2 separate regions of the Homo sapiens genome follow, and region 2 is linked to region 1. Evidence: promoter capture Hi-C in human tissues and cell types (Jung and others, 2019). All regions are on one chromosome and are shown on one strand. Each heading gives the region's core, a stretch centred on a gene start or on the middle of the fragment in contact. The rest is flanking DNA. Distances are from core to core; before and after follow the strand shown.

The links. The method cuts DNA at HindIII sites, captures the fragments that hold promoters and counts their contacts. A contact is called where the count stands out against the background at its distance.
Region 2: a fragment that was not itself captured here is called in contact with the fragment with the promoter of BRD9 in region 1 in 2 of the 25 tissues and cell types used here (H1 embryonic stem cells and bladder).

Annotation. Positions count from the first base shown.
Region 1 is chr5:889,420-895,846 of GRCh38, forward strand. It overlaps BRD9 (bromodomain containing 9), which reads right to left and starts at 3,382. Exons shown (of 16, transcript NM_023924.5): 1 at 3,187-3,382; 2 at 2,221-2,435; 3 at 1,736-1,868; 4 at 168-228. The coding sequence starts at 3,238. TRIP13 (thyroid hormone receptor interactor 13) reads left to right here and starts at 3,465. Exons shown (of 13, transcript NM_004237.4): 1 at 3,465-3,671; 2 at 5,368-5,533. The coding sequence starts at 3,580. RefSeq lists silencers at 2,723-2,941, 3,132-3,751 and an enhancer at 2,751-3,383. The HindIII fragment of the contact is 22,788 bases long and covers 1-6,427 here.
Region 2 is chr5:961,855-968,281 of GRCh38, forward strand. LOC124900931 (a long non-coding RNA gene) reads right to left here and starts at 2,307. Exons shown (of 2, transcript XR_007058676.1): 1 at 2,245-2,307; 2 at 464-872. RefSeq lists enhancers at 1,736-1,895, 3,482-3,983. The HindIII fragment of the contact is 5,091 bases long and covers 707-5,797 here.

The DNA.
Region 1 (6,427 bases), core at 2,132-4,631:
ATGAGTTCATGAACTCTTCCTACGCACCCCGAAGTGGACTGGGAGTCACCAAGAGAAGGTGCAGGGTCTGTTTCACAGCTGACGAGGCTGGCGTGGGGAATAAGGCCTCAGAAAAGATGACACCACACCCCCCCAGACACTAGCTCTTCAGAAACGCCCCGGTTTACCTCTGAAGCTGGCGGAGGAAGTGTTCCAGGAGTTGCTGAATAGGTGTGCTCTCATTTTCGGCTGACAATTTAAGGAAAAAAAAATTGAATACAAGACTTTGGTATCCCTTCATTAGAGAGCTCCAAGTTCACAGTATCTGTCTGTCTGGTGTCTCACAGCATTTTAAGTTCCACCGAGAACTGGGGATATAAAGATACATCCGACTCAGCCTTGGCTCCCACCAAGCTCAGCCGGGTAGAAAGGGCACCCCCACAGCAGGAGTCATAAAAATCTCTTGTAATAACCGGTAGCCCTTACATCAACAATATGTGGTGATCACTTAGCAATGTTTTCAGCTCATACCACTACTCTAGACAAGAAATGGACGACGGAACAAACGCTCTGGACATAAAGGTTGATCCTGAATTCACCGATTATTATTTCACTTGAGGTCCCTTAAAATTCAACAAAAAGTAAATAAATGGCCGGCGTGGTGGTGCGTGCCTGTAGTCCCAGCAACTTGGGAGGCTGAGGTGGGAGGATCGCTTGAGCCCAGGGTTATCTGAGCCCAGGAGTGAATCACGACACTGCACTCCAGCCTAGGCGACACAGCAAGACCATGTTTCAAAAATAAATTAAAAAAAGAAAGTGCCTGAAGAGCCAAATGACCACAGGAGCTCAGAAGGCCACCAGCTTTCCAGAACTTTCCTTCAGTGGAGCCAGCAGGCCTCAGACAGTTTCTGACGGCCTGAATGATCGCAGCACTAGCCTCCCCACTCCCTGATGTCCCATGTCCCAAAGCCCAGCCGTCTGTTTCCCTATAATCCAGGAACCACTGGATGCTGAGAGTTGCTGGGAAGAGACACCCCTTGTCTTAGGTACAAATGCCTCATCACTGTGAGTTGTGCACAGGAAGGCTGGGGACAAAGAGAACTCAGAGGGCAAGTCCTTGTCAACTGGAAATTCCAGCCAAATGCCATCCTTCGCAGATGGTGCCCACGACAGAGATTCTACTAAAGGCCTCCAGCTTCCTTTGTCTCAGCCTATGGTCACTTTCAGCAACTTCAGACCCACCATTTGGGCCTCGAGGTCCCTTCTTCCCAAGGGGAATTACCTGCGTTTTCACTGACATGCATCTCTCTTACCAGTCTGACCCAGATGGGGCTACTGTTCCAATACTGTCTTAAGTGCAAACAAAACCAAACTTCAAGACCCAGGGCTGGCAAACTTTTTACATAAAGGCCAGACAAAAAACAGTCTAGGCTTTGCGGGTCACATACGATTGGTCTCTGTGGAGATGCCTTTTTGTTTCTTTTTATGAACGCTTAAAAAACATATAAGCCATCCTTAGCTAACAAGTTAAAAAACAAAACTGAAGGGCACCAGTGGTAACTGGCCACGCCTTGCTCTAGACATTCAGAGACACCGGAGGAAACCTCAGGCCAGAGGACACCTGGGATGAGGCCCTGGAAATACCAGCTCTCCTCCCTCCCATGCTTCTCCCCAAAGCAACAGGACACGGTGCCGACCCCTCATTTACAACGATGAGCTGTGAACACCAGGAGAGTCTCTAAAAGTGCACCCTTGCCTGGCTGTGTCCGGCACGCTCGGACTGGCCGATCTGGGGGCGGCTCCACCTCCACCTTCTTCCCAGGATCAAAGTCGTCAGCCTCTCCCTCCGTGTCACAGTGCTCCCTCTCTCGCTTCCGCTTCTTCTCTTCCTGGGCGGCAGAGTCAAGGGAGTGAGAAAGGCAGGAGTAGGCGGGATCCGGACAGGTCTGCCCAATCCCCTCGCAGTTCTCAGGGGAGGGACAGAACTAAGGGAAACCCCCTCCGAGATCCTCCTCATGCCAGGCTCCCTCCTCACAGAGACCCTGGCAGGGTCTGCTGAGGAACAGCACACCCAGGATCCTGGAACTGAGTCTGCGGGCCTCAGCGGTTCGCGTTTTGCTACCAACGGAACACCCCCTCCCCTCCTCCAGCCACGCAGGCGCACTCTGCCTGGGTCCTGGGACCAGGCTCCCCACGGGCTCCTCGTGGGCAGCGTCCGGGCCACCGCCGCTGCTCCTTTACCTTTCGCTTCCTTCTTTCCTCATCGTCCAGATGCTTCTCCTTCTCGGACTTCTTCTTCTTCTTCTTTTTCTTTTCTTTGTGCCTCTCTCGCTCATGGTCTGACCTGTCATCATAGTAACTGGAGTCGTGGCCGGATCCTGAGAGTTCAGTCACTTCACTTCCTCCGACCTTCAGGACTAGCTTTAGAGGCTTCTCCAGGGGCTTGTCGGCATAATCTGCACAGACACAGACCGAGTTCTACCCGCGTGCTCAGGTGCAAACGCCACGCAGCCAGGTGAGACGTGAAGGTGCTAAGAGGGAAAGGCCTCCCTAAGGAGTACAGCGGGGCTGCCAACCAGCAGGGAAAGACGGAAGGGAAGACCACAGTGGCGGCATGTCACTGCCTCCTTGTTCTCCCTTCCCCTCCGCAGGGAGCTTCAGGTCCCTTTCGAGCCACGGTGTCCTCACCAGAGGCCCTGTGGGATGTTGTTCACATTACTCGTTCAAGAAGATGGATTAAGAGGGACCTGGAACCCCGGAGCCCGATCTCCCTCCTAGAAACCCCCAGCACTTCGGTTCACCCTCGCCTGACTTCCTGCAGGCGCCCGTGCTGCCCGCTGACACCCATGGAGCTGCTGCGGGAGCAAGGGAGAGGGAGGGAAAGGCGGGAGAAAGGGCAGCCCAGCTTCTCCCTGAGCTCCACACAAAAGCCAGCACAGATGCTTCCCTAGTCTCCAGGACCGGGGTGAGTGGGCTTGCAGCCTCGAACCCAGAACCCTCTACCAGGAACGTAAGCGCCTACCCAGGACCCCTCACGTGTGCCCGGTTCCCTGCCCGAAATCCCAGGACCCCCTCCCGCGTGCCCAGAACCCCTCCCTCGTGGCCAGGACCTCGCCCGGTGCCCAGGACCCCCGTCCGCGTGCCCGGAACTCCTCCCCCGTGCCCGGGACCCCGCCCGCCGCGCGTCACAAAGCGCCGCCGCCTCACCCTCGTAGGACGAGCGCCACTCGGCCTTGTGCTTCTTGTGCTTCTTGCCCATGGCGGCGCCGGCGGCGGGCCCGAGGCGGGGGCTGGGAACAGCTGGCACCCGGTCGGACCTTGGCCGCCACCGCCCCCTGGCCCTGGCTGGCCGCCCGCGCTCGCTGCGCCGAGGTTGCCGAGCTCGCTGGGCCGCGCCGGAAACGGGGCGAGGCGGGGCCGCGGCAGGAAGTGGCCCTGCCGGGCCCGAGCGCTTCCGGGTCAGGAGGTGGTGCGCCTCGCGCGGCAGATTCGAAGCTAGGGCGGGGCCCGCGGGCTGAGGCAGCGGCTGTGGCGGCGACGCTGGGCGTGAGGTGGCGGCGGCCGCGCCCTGGTTGGGTCCCCACTGCTCTCGGGGGCGCCATGGACGAGGCCGTGGGCGACCTGAAGCAGGCGCTTCCCTGTGTGGCCGAGTCGCCAACGGTCCACGTGGAGGTGCATCAGCGCGGCAGCAGGTGAGCCGGACCTGTCCGACACATCCTCTGGGCACCCACCCGCCCCGACCCCAGCGCGTGCACCGAGCCCCGACCCCAGCGCACTGATTCTGATGCGACCGAACCCCAGGGTACTGATCCGGCCCGACTGGACCCGGGCGCACAGGCCGCCGGGCCCCGACCGGATCCTAGCGCAATGACGCGACCCCACCGCAGGGCACTGACCCGGCCGACCCGAGCCCTGCGCGCAGGACCCCAGCTCACAGATTGAGCCCCGACCCGACCTCAGCTCACGGACCTGGCCCTGACCCTGCCCCTGCCCCGGCTGTCCTCCAGTGCATTGATGTGGCCCTGAGTCCCACGTTGGAGAATAGGATGGCTGCGCATTACAGAGAGCTCTAGTCTCAGCCGAAAGCTGGGTGGTTATTCTTTGAGCCACTGCTTCTCAGACCCTTTAATTGTTCCCGTTCCTCACGGACTCGATGTTAAATTTTTAGGGTTCAAAGCACATCCCACTCATTTGTGACCAAGTCAGTTCATGGTATGGTGGGGCCTGTGGGCTGTGCTGCTCCCTGGAGTGGGGGGAACTCAGCGGCGGGGCCAGACCTTCACAGACCCTCCTTATGTCCACGGAGGGTGGATTGAGGTCAGGTGAGACCACCAGCCTCAGAGGGGATGCAGAGGAAGAGACCTTTCCTTTAACAGAATAGCTGTTGACTGGGTATTTTCTAGGTGCTGGAGTTCAGACACGTCAGCATAATTGCACCAGGGCCCAGAGACACCTGCACAAAGCCCCATCACAGCCTGGCGACACCTGTGTAAACACCTTAGCGCTCAGAGACACCTGTACACAGTGCCACCGCAGCCTAGAGACACCCCATGTACAACCACACCTGGGCCCAGAGACGCTAGGCATAATCACACCAGAGCACAGCTGCACCTAGAGGACAGACACCTACGTACAACTGCACCAGAGTTCATAGACACCTGCACACAACCGCACTATGCATGGTGGTCGCTGCTTGTAGGGTGCTGGGACGATTGCAAAGGGGCCACATGTCACCTGCCTGGCTCTGAGGAGCCTGTCCAGGAGGGCTCAGAGGGAGGCAGACATTGAATAGGACTTAGAGGGTGACTGCAGTTGATCAGGCCAGTAAGCTGGGACAGTGCATAGCAGGGCACAGAGGTGTGATCCGGGACCAGGTCACTGTTGTAGAAAGGGGAGGTGTTAGGAGGACTGCAGCAAGGGGGACCAAGGGAAGCCCTGGATACCAAGCTGAAAGCATTAGATTTTCTCAGCACGAATCACGGCTATTGGAGACTTGTTACAATGCAGACCCCAGGCCTGACCCCACAGCTGTGGAACTTCATTAGTAATAGTGAAAGCCAACATTATTGCGTGCTTACTATGTGCCAGGTATCGTCCTAAACACTTTGAGTGTATTAATGACTTCACAGTAGCCCAGCATAGCGAGAACTCTTACTGTTGTCCCCTTTTTCTAACTGGGAGCTGAGGCACAGCTTCTTCAGGGCACAGCTGGTAGAGGACCCACAGGCAAGGGGTGGCTCTAGATTTGGTCCCAGGCAGGCCAACTCCAACTTACCCTGTTAACTACTGGGCTTTCTTATGTATTGTCTGAGTTTTTCAAAACACTTCATTTTAACATTTTGTTTTTGAACTAAGATCATTTATGTGTGTTTTGGCTTCTTTTTTTAGCACTGCAAAGAAAGAAGACATAAACCTGAGTGTTAGAAAGCTACTCAACAGACATAATATTGTGTTTGGTGATTACACATGGACTGAGTTTGATGAACCTTTTTTGACCAGAAATGTGCAGTCTGTGTCTATTATTGACACAGAATTAAAGGTTAAAGACTCACAGGTAAGTTACTAATTTGCTGGGCCAAGGAACAGTTAGCTGAATACAAAAGGTTGTATCATGAATGTCTTGCCGTTTTCATAGCCTGTTGTCAGAAACAGGTTCACTTCTCTGTTGGTTTGGGTGGCTAGACAAGTTCTTTTCACTAGCTGTCAGGAGCCAGGTGCTGGGAGTAGGAAGTAGCCCTGATGTCGGGGTGCTCTCAGTATAGCAGTAACAGATTGGAAACCAGGAATGAGAATGCAGTGCTGTACAATAGTGGGCTGCGCTGGTAAGGCCTGTGTGCCATGTCTCATTCTTTCAATCAGCAAATGTTTATAAAGTGCTCAGTGTGTGCTAGGACCATAGGAGGTGTGGGGCCACAGAGATGAGAAGATGGGCTTGCCTTATAGAATTCCTTTATCTCATCCCATGCATGGCCACCTCACCCACCATCTGAGTTGATGCGTATGGGTTAGAGGAGCTTTGTGTGAGGGCGTGGAGGCATTGGGGCGATTCTGGCACCAGTATAAAAACAACCTGAAACATTCCTAAGGAAGACTTATCACTTACAGCAGTACAATTCCTGTCCTGTAAGAACCAGCTGTGAAGGACAGGCTTGGTACTAAGTTCTGCTCGTGAGGTGGACCTCCCCATTCATACGTTAGGACTCATGTTTGTGCATGCTCAGAGCTTTGTGCACACTGAGATCTGATAATGCCGTGGTTTTGGCCAGTCTGAGGGAAGGAAGAGCTTCCCACACTGTTGTGGAGGGATGGACACCCTAACTGGAGGGCACGGGCTGCCCAGGGAAAGTTCTAATGTTCTCTGACTGCAGATTCACTTGTAGGAATTTATCGTAGCTGATAATCATGCAATTTTGTAGATCTTTCTGAACAGATGTTTGTTAGATGCTGT
Region 2 (6,427 bases), core at 2,002-4,501, 72 kb after region 1:
AGAGTCTGCTGCCGTGTGAGGGCTCTATTGGCCCCAGGAGACTTTTCGAGGGTCCTGCACAGCTGCTGGCAGGCTTTGGTCCTTGCGGGCTGTTGTCTGGAGTCCCGTGCACCTCGGGAGATCGCTCTGTTCTCGCGTCGCCTGAGTTCCCACGGCATGGCTGCTGGCTTCACCCAAGCCCGTGACCCAGGAGACAGAGCAACCAGGAGGGAGACCTGGCATGTCCAGCCCAGTTTCGGAAGTGACCCATCTGCACTCTGCCGCATGCTGTCGGCCGCACAGACTCACCTGGGACTACGTGGAAGAAACCGCAAGGGCGTGAGTGCCAGGAAGCCAGGCTCACCAGGCAGAGCCGTTGCATGAGCAGGACACAAACCTCCGTTGTGTCAGGATCTTTCCATCCCAGGGACCACTTCTTGCCGCAGATTAGCCCTTCCCACAGACACAGAGACTGGAACCTTCATGCAGGGTGTGGCCAAAATATATTTCTACAGCATAGTTACACTGGGGAGGAAACAGACAGGGCAGGTGGAGACTGGGGGCCCTGCCAGGGGCCAGGGTCTGCGGGAATGAGGGGGCAGACCACCCCCACCGAGCCCAGATGCCAGGGAAGGAGCCTGGCCAGAAAGATCCAGAAGGACTCAGTGTCTGGCGGCCCTCGCTGCTCCCCATTCTTTGAGGCCGTTGTTCCCAGATGGGATGTCGGATGCGTCTCTGGCCCGGGCCCCTGGTGAAATGTGATGGAGGGGTGTGGATGGAGCGTGGTGGACACAGCAAGAGCCTGGCCAGGCATCCCTGGGGCAGGACAGCATCAGCCGGGGAGCGGGGTCTAGCCCCAGCCGCCTGGCACAGAGTGGCGCCCAATTCTAGAGCTTGAATGAAAGAGGGAATTCAGGAAGACGCTTACACCAGCCAGGCCCCGGGGCACTCAGGACGGTAGCATCACGGGGTGCCAAAGTCTGCAAAGGTGACAGAGGACGTGGGGCCTCGGCAGGGCTGCCTCCACTTCCCCAAGCACACGGAAGACAGGCAGGGTGGACGGGGGTGACCCGGCCTGGGACCTGGGCTGTACCTTAGACCTCAGTTCCCCTCCACATGGAAGCAGCACCAAGACCCACAAGCCCTCGCTGTGGGGACCCCCGGCCTCACCCACCACCGTCCACATGGCCCCCACACCCACGGCGTTCATCTGGGCCACAAGAAGTGTTCCTCCAGGGCACGGCCCACCCAGGCCCACCCTTGGAGCTTCCCTGGTATGGACTGGCTGGGCTGGCAGAATGGGTCAGGGTGCCAGGCAGACTCTCAGGGACTTGAAGCGAGGACAGAAAATACTCCCCAGACAAGGGCAGACACAGGAGGGAACAATGCCTGAGGACACAGGCCTGAGGCAGGCCAAGCGCTGCCACGCGTGGACTGGACGAAGGCCTGCTAGGCATGGCCTGGCTGGAAGTGAAGAACCGAGGCAGCACCTCTGGCTTGGAGGGAGCAGGTGGGAGCCCTTGCACTGGCTTCCTCTCCCCTGTTCTTATTCTTCTGGAATTAGGGAGGCTGCTGGGAGGTAGAGGAAGCACCTGCCCCAGTCCTCAGAGGACAGAATCATGCGAATGCTTAGTTACCGAGACCTCCTTCCCACCTGCACGCCGGGCCAGTGGCTCTGCCCGTGACAGCCCCGGGCCTGGCCTGTGCTCAGCACTCATCACTCTTGGGTCTTCCAGGCCATGGTGGCATTGCACGCCCTGCCCTAGGTGTGGGGTTGTTTCATGTTTCAGAAGCCGAAGGACCTGCCCTCCCTCTCATCTCAACACAGCGCCTGGCAGAGAAGCAGTTCCTCTGTCTACTCCAGGGGCTCACACGCCCCTCTGTAGCCCGAAAGTCGGCCTCGGATGTGATAAGCCAGGAAACTCCCTGGTCACCAGTGCATAAGCCCTCAGGGGCTCCAGACGCAGCAGCTGGTTCAGAATTTGTTATCCTGGACTAAAGCCTCCCCTTGCACCACCGTGGGGGTGGAAGGAGGTGGCTTGTCTGAGAAACACCAACATGGACAGGGACGTTCACTGTCACAGAGACAAGGCCTGGCCCCACCTCCCCACAGGACTCCCTCCCCAGTGCCTGGTCTGACGGCAGAACCAGGCAACACCCAGTTCCGCTCCCCTCACCCTTGCCTTCAGAAGCAACAGATAACGGCAAACCCTTGCGTGCAGCGACCACATGAAGACCGCAGCTGCGCGGGCTGTAGTTTCTTACCCTCTGTCAGCACGCACGGCTCTCCAACAGATGGGCGATTTCAAGTTGCTCTGCATCTTAAATGACCCCTTGATAAAACCCCAAACGGCTTTGGATGGGTCTGTTTCCTGTATCTTAAGCACAGAAAAAACAGCCCAGATGTTTCTGATTCATTCAAGCTTTAGTTCAAGAGCACGCTCTGCCGTGGGAGTTTCTTTGAAACTGAGGAGACACACAGGCCCTTCCTCCACTCCCTCCTGCCTGGCTGAGAAAAGGGACTTGCTTGCAGCCACCTGAGAGCAAACAGCACAGGTGCATGGAAGAGGGTCCCGCAGAGCCCTGGGGAGCCCGGCTGGGGACTCTGGGAAGCGGACGGCATCCACACGTGTCCACGCATTCATCGTTGGTACGAGATCCAACTCCCTACCTCCCGGGGGTGCAGAACGCAGGGTCCAGGGAGACGGCAGCCACCTTGGGGAGGATTCGGCCTTGTGAGATAGCAAGGTCCTTCCCTCAGTGGTCGTGGCCTCCCCAGAGTCCTACACCCCTCTGCTCTGCCCCCAAAGCCTGCACCCCCTTTAGAGGCCCCCTGAGCATGGAGACGGGTCCGTGTACCTGAGATCTGCAGGCACACAAATGTATCTGCAATGCTGCCTCGGTCAGCTGTGTCACATGGTTCTGCGGCTGCTCTGAAAATGGCCATTAGGTGGGAGTTTTTCTTTCCTTTTTCCTCTCCCCTTCTCTGTTATTGATTTAGAGACTTCATGCAGAAATTGAATAGGAGGAAGGGGGTGACAGTCCTCTGAGACCTGAAATCTCAGCCACGCCACGAGTGGCCGAGGGCCCAGGTCTGGTGACCAATGGTGAGAAGGAGTCATCTCTCAGAACGAGGCCCAGACAGTGCCGGGAACCAGGGGGTCCCACCAGGCACAGGCAGAACCAGCACGGTGCCTCCCCAGAGTCCGGTGACCTGAGGAGCTGCCAGGACGGCCAGACCCCAGTGAGTCAGTGACCACCAGGACGGCCAGGCACTCTCAGCAGCAGAATTCAGGCTGCATTCATTTTCTCCAAGGAGTGCAGTGTGGGTTCGGACAGTTTGAGCTCAAGCATTAGGGCTCTGTGGAGCAGGATCACAGCTAGTTATTGGGAAATCACCAAAAATGCATCGATACACAATTCTAGGTTCCAAACAAGAAGAGAAAGGACACTTTCGCTTTTAAAAGAAGGAAGATACAAAGCCTGGCAATGAACAGAAGTTTACAGAACAGAAAAATATGGGGTTAAAAACAGCCATTGGAGTCTTCCCAATTCTCATTCAGAGAGGGTGGCATGAAAGCCAACAGAAATCGATGTTGATAGGAAACAAGTGTCATCAGAGAAGGTAAGGGCATTCGCAGAGGGAATAATATTATTTGTGAACTGTCATGGCATGGCCGTTTTTAAACTTATCTTCACAGCATCTCTCCTCATAAGCAAGAGCATGAAGAGCACGGAGAATGTCTGTTTGGTGGCCGACAGCCATCACGGGGTCTCTACGTGCCGGCCAGTCCTCACCTCGTTTGCACGCGTTTATGAACTTAGCCCTCCCTCCGCACCATGAAGGGGCCCTTATCGTCCCGTTTCACAGGTGTGGAGACAGAGGCTCGAGGGGAGAAACAGCCCTGGCGGGCGAAGGCAGAGCTGAGCTTCCGAGAAGGGCCTCCTGTGTTCAGAAATTCCAAAGGAGAAGTAGAAGTTGTCCTGTGGGCAGGAGGGGAGGGAGAAACTCCCAGATGACAGGTGCGAGCCGCGGCCTCGTGCTGACATCTAGAACCGGATGATGGGAGCGAACCGCGGCCTCGTGCTGACGTGTAGAGTGGGAGGGACCCTGGCATCCAGGGGCTTCTTTCTTGGGGAAACACCAAGTATAGAAAGTCAACCATCGTTGTCTCTCACGTAGGATTAACTGTTGCTTTTCAGCTTTTTTACACTTATTTTTTGTTAAGCTATGTCACTACACTTTTTTTTCTGAAATAACGTTAGACTTATGGAAGAGTTGCCAAGATCGTCCAGGAGTCCCCGCCCCCTTCAGGCAGCTTCCTCCCGTGTCAGCACCTTGCATACCCGACCTTGACCACAAGGATTGAGGCTAAGAATTAACACGGGGCAATTAACTACACAGTAGCTTGATTCAGATTCCTCCAGTTTCTGGTAACATCCACCTCCTGCTTTAGAAACAACACTGAGTTCCATGAGCACGCAGGTGTCATCTCGCTGTAGGCTCCAGCCCACGGCAGGCCCCGTGTTTCCTTGCCTCCCATGGCCTTGCCACTTGGAAGAGCACTGGCTGGGTGTTTTGAAGAACAGCCCTCAGTTTGAGTTTGCTATTTTATCATGTCTGGATCGAAGTTATGTGTCTGTGCCAAGAAACTGGCAGAAGCCCCATACCCTGCTCAGCGTCCGCAGTAGTGACTCACGGGCCCTATGCTTTGCCTCATTATGGGTTGTTTTGGCCCTGGTCACCTGGTTCTGGTGGGATCTGCTGGCTTCCCCCACTGTAACGTTACTATTCTTCATTTGTAATTTATTTATTTGTATTTACTTATTTTGAGATGGGGTCTCTCTCTGTCCCTCAGGCTGGAGTGCGGTCGTGCAATTTTAGCTCACGGCAACCTCTACCTCCCGGGCTCAAGCAATCCACTCGCTCAGCCTCCCAAGTAGCTGGGACTACAGGTGTGTGCCACTGCGCCCAGGTAATTTTTGTATTTTTTTAGAGACAGGATTTCACCGTGTTGCCCAAGCTTCTCTCAAACTCCTGAGCTCAGATGATCTACCTGCCTTGGCCTCTCAGGGAAGATACTTTGAGACTACAAGAGTATCCTATTTCTCCTCAAAGTCTTTTCTGCTAATTTTAGCATGGGTTGGTGGGTTTTGTCTGCAACAATTACTACTGTGGTGTTCTGAGATGATTTGTTTCCTCACTACTCTGCTGGAATTCCTCTGAAGGAAGGACCGCCCTCCCCTCACTGATTTATTCAATCACTCGTGTGCCTTCATGTGGACTTGTGCATATTTATGCTTTGGATGATCATCCCACACTGTCATTATTTACTTAGTTGCTAAAATTTACCCAGCTCTGGCCACTGGGCTTTTCCAGGCGGGCCCTTGGGACCCTCCCATCCTTCGGGAGCACTTTCTCGCTTTCCAGCATAACCCCAGGCTGCCCCGGTTTTTCCCCCAGCCCTGGAATCCATCATTTCTCCAAGGAACCCTGCTCTTTTTACTGGAGAATGAGCTTTAGAGACCAAGGTCAGGGCACTAACTGTGCTCATTGCTGCTGGGGTGTCGCTGAGCAAAGAGAAATGTGAATAGCAAATTAGCCTATAATTATTAATAATTATTTATTGATGGGTAAATAAAGGAATGAATGAAGGAGGAATTATTCAAAATACTCAAAAGATGGATGTTGAGTACGACACTTCCTCCTTGTAAGAAATAATTTAAATGTAAATGAACACGTATCTAACTTACAGCAGGGGCTATGCCTCTTGGTGTTTTCCTGTGTGTACATCGCTGTGACACATGAAAAACGGAGAGACACCCAGAGGCAATGAGAAATGCTGAACGACGCAAAGCAAAACAAAAGCAAACATTTAAAACAAACTTCTAAGTTTACAAGAAAGAAAGAACAGACTTCGAAAAAATACCCACCTGTCGATAAAATGAGATAAATTGACCATAGATGAACCTGCTCATCAACCAGTCTGGGATCCATATTTACATTATTTCTGTGATGCCAGAACTACCAGGTAAAAAGACAAACAAACAGAAACGGTCCCAGGCTGGTGACAAGCCAAGACTGCCTAAACCAGGGCCACCTGCTCTGAAGGGGGACTCCCCCACCTGCCTCCTGAGATTCCCACGGTCAGAGTTCCCCCAAAGACGATCCTACAGTCCTAGTGACGAAACACCCAGGGAAGCCAGCCCCAGGAGTGAGAGCTGCCAGAGGCCGCCTGTGCCCAGACACGAGCCCCAGAGTTAATCTATAGTGACCATCTTTAAAGTTATCAACTGTAGAAGAAGGGTTCAAAATCAAAGGAAAACATGGGACACCATGAAAAATACGAAGAGTTTTAAAAGAATAAAATAAAGCCTCTAAAAATGAAGTGTAGAGCTATTGAAATTTCTTTTTTTCTTTGAGTGGCTGAAGGGGGTAGTTCCCTTT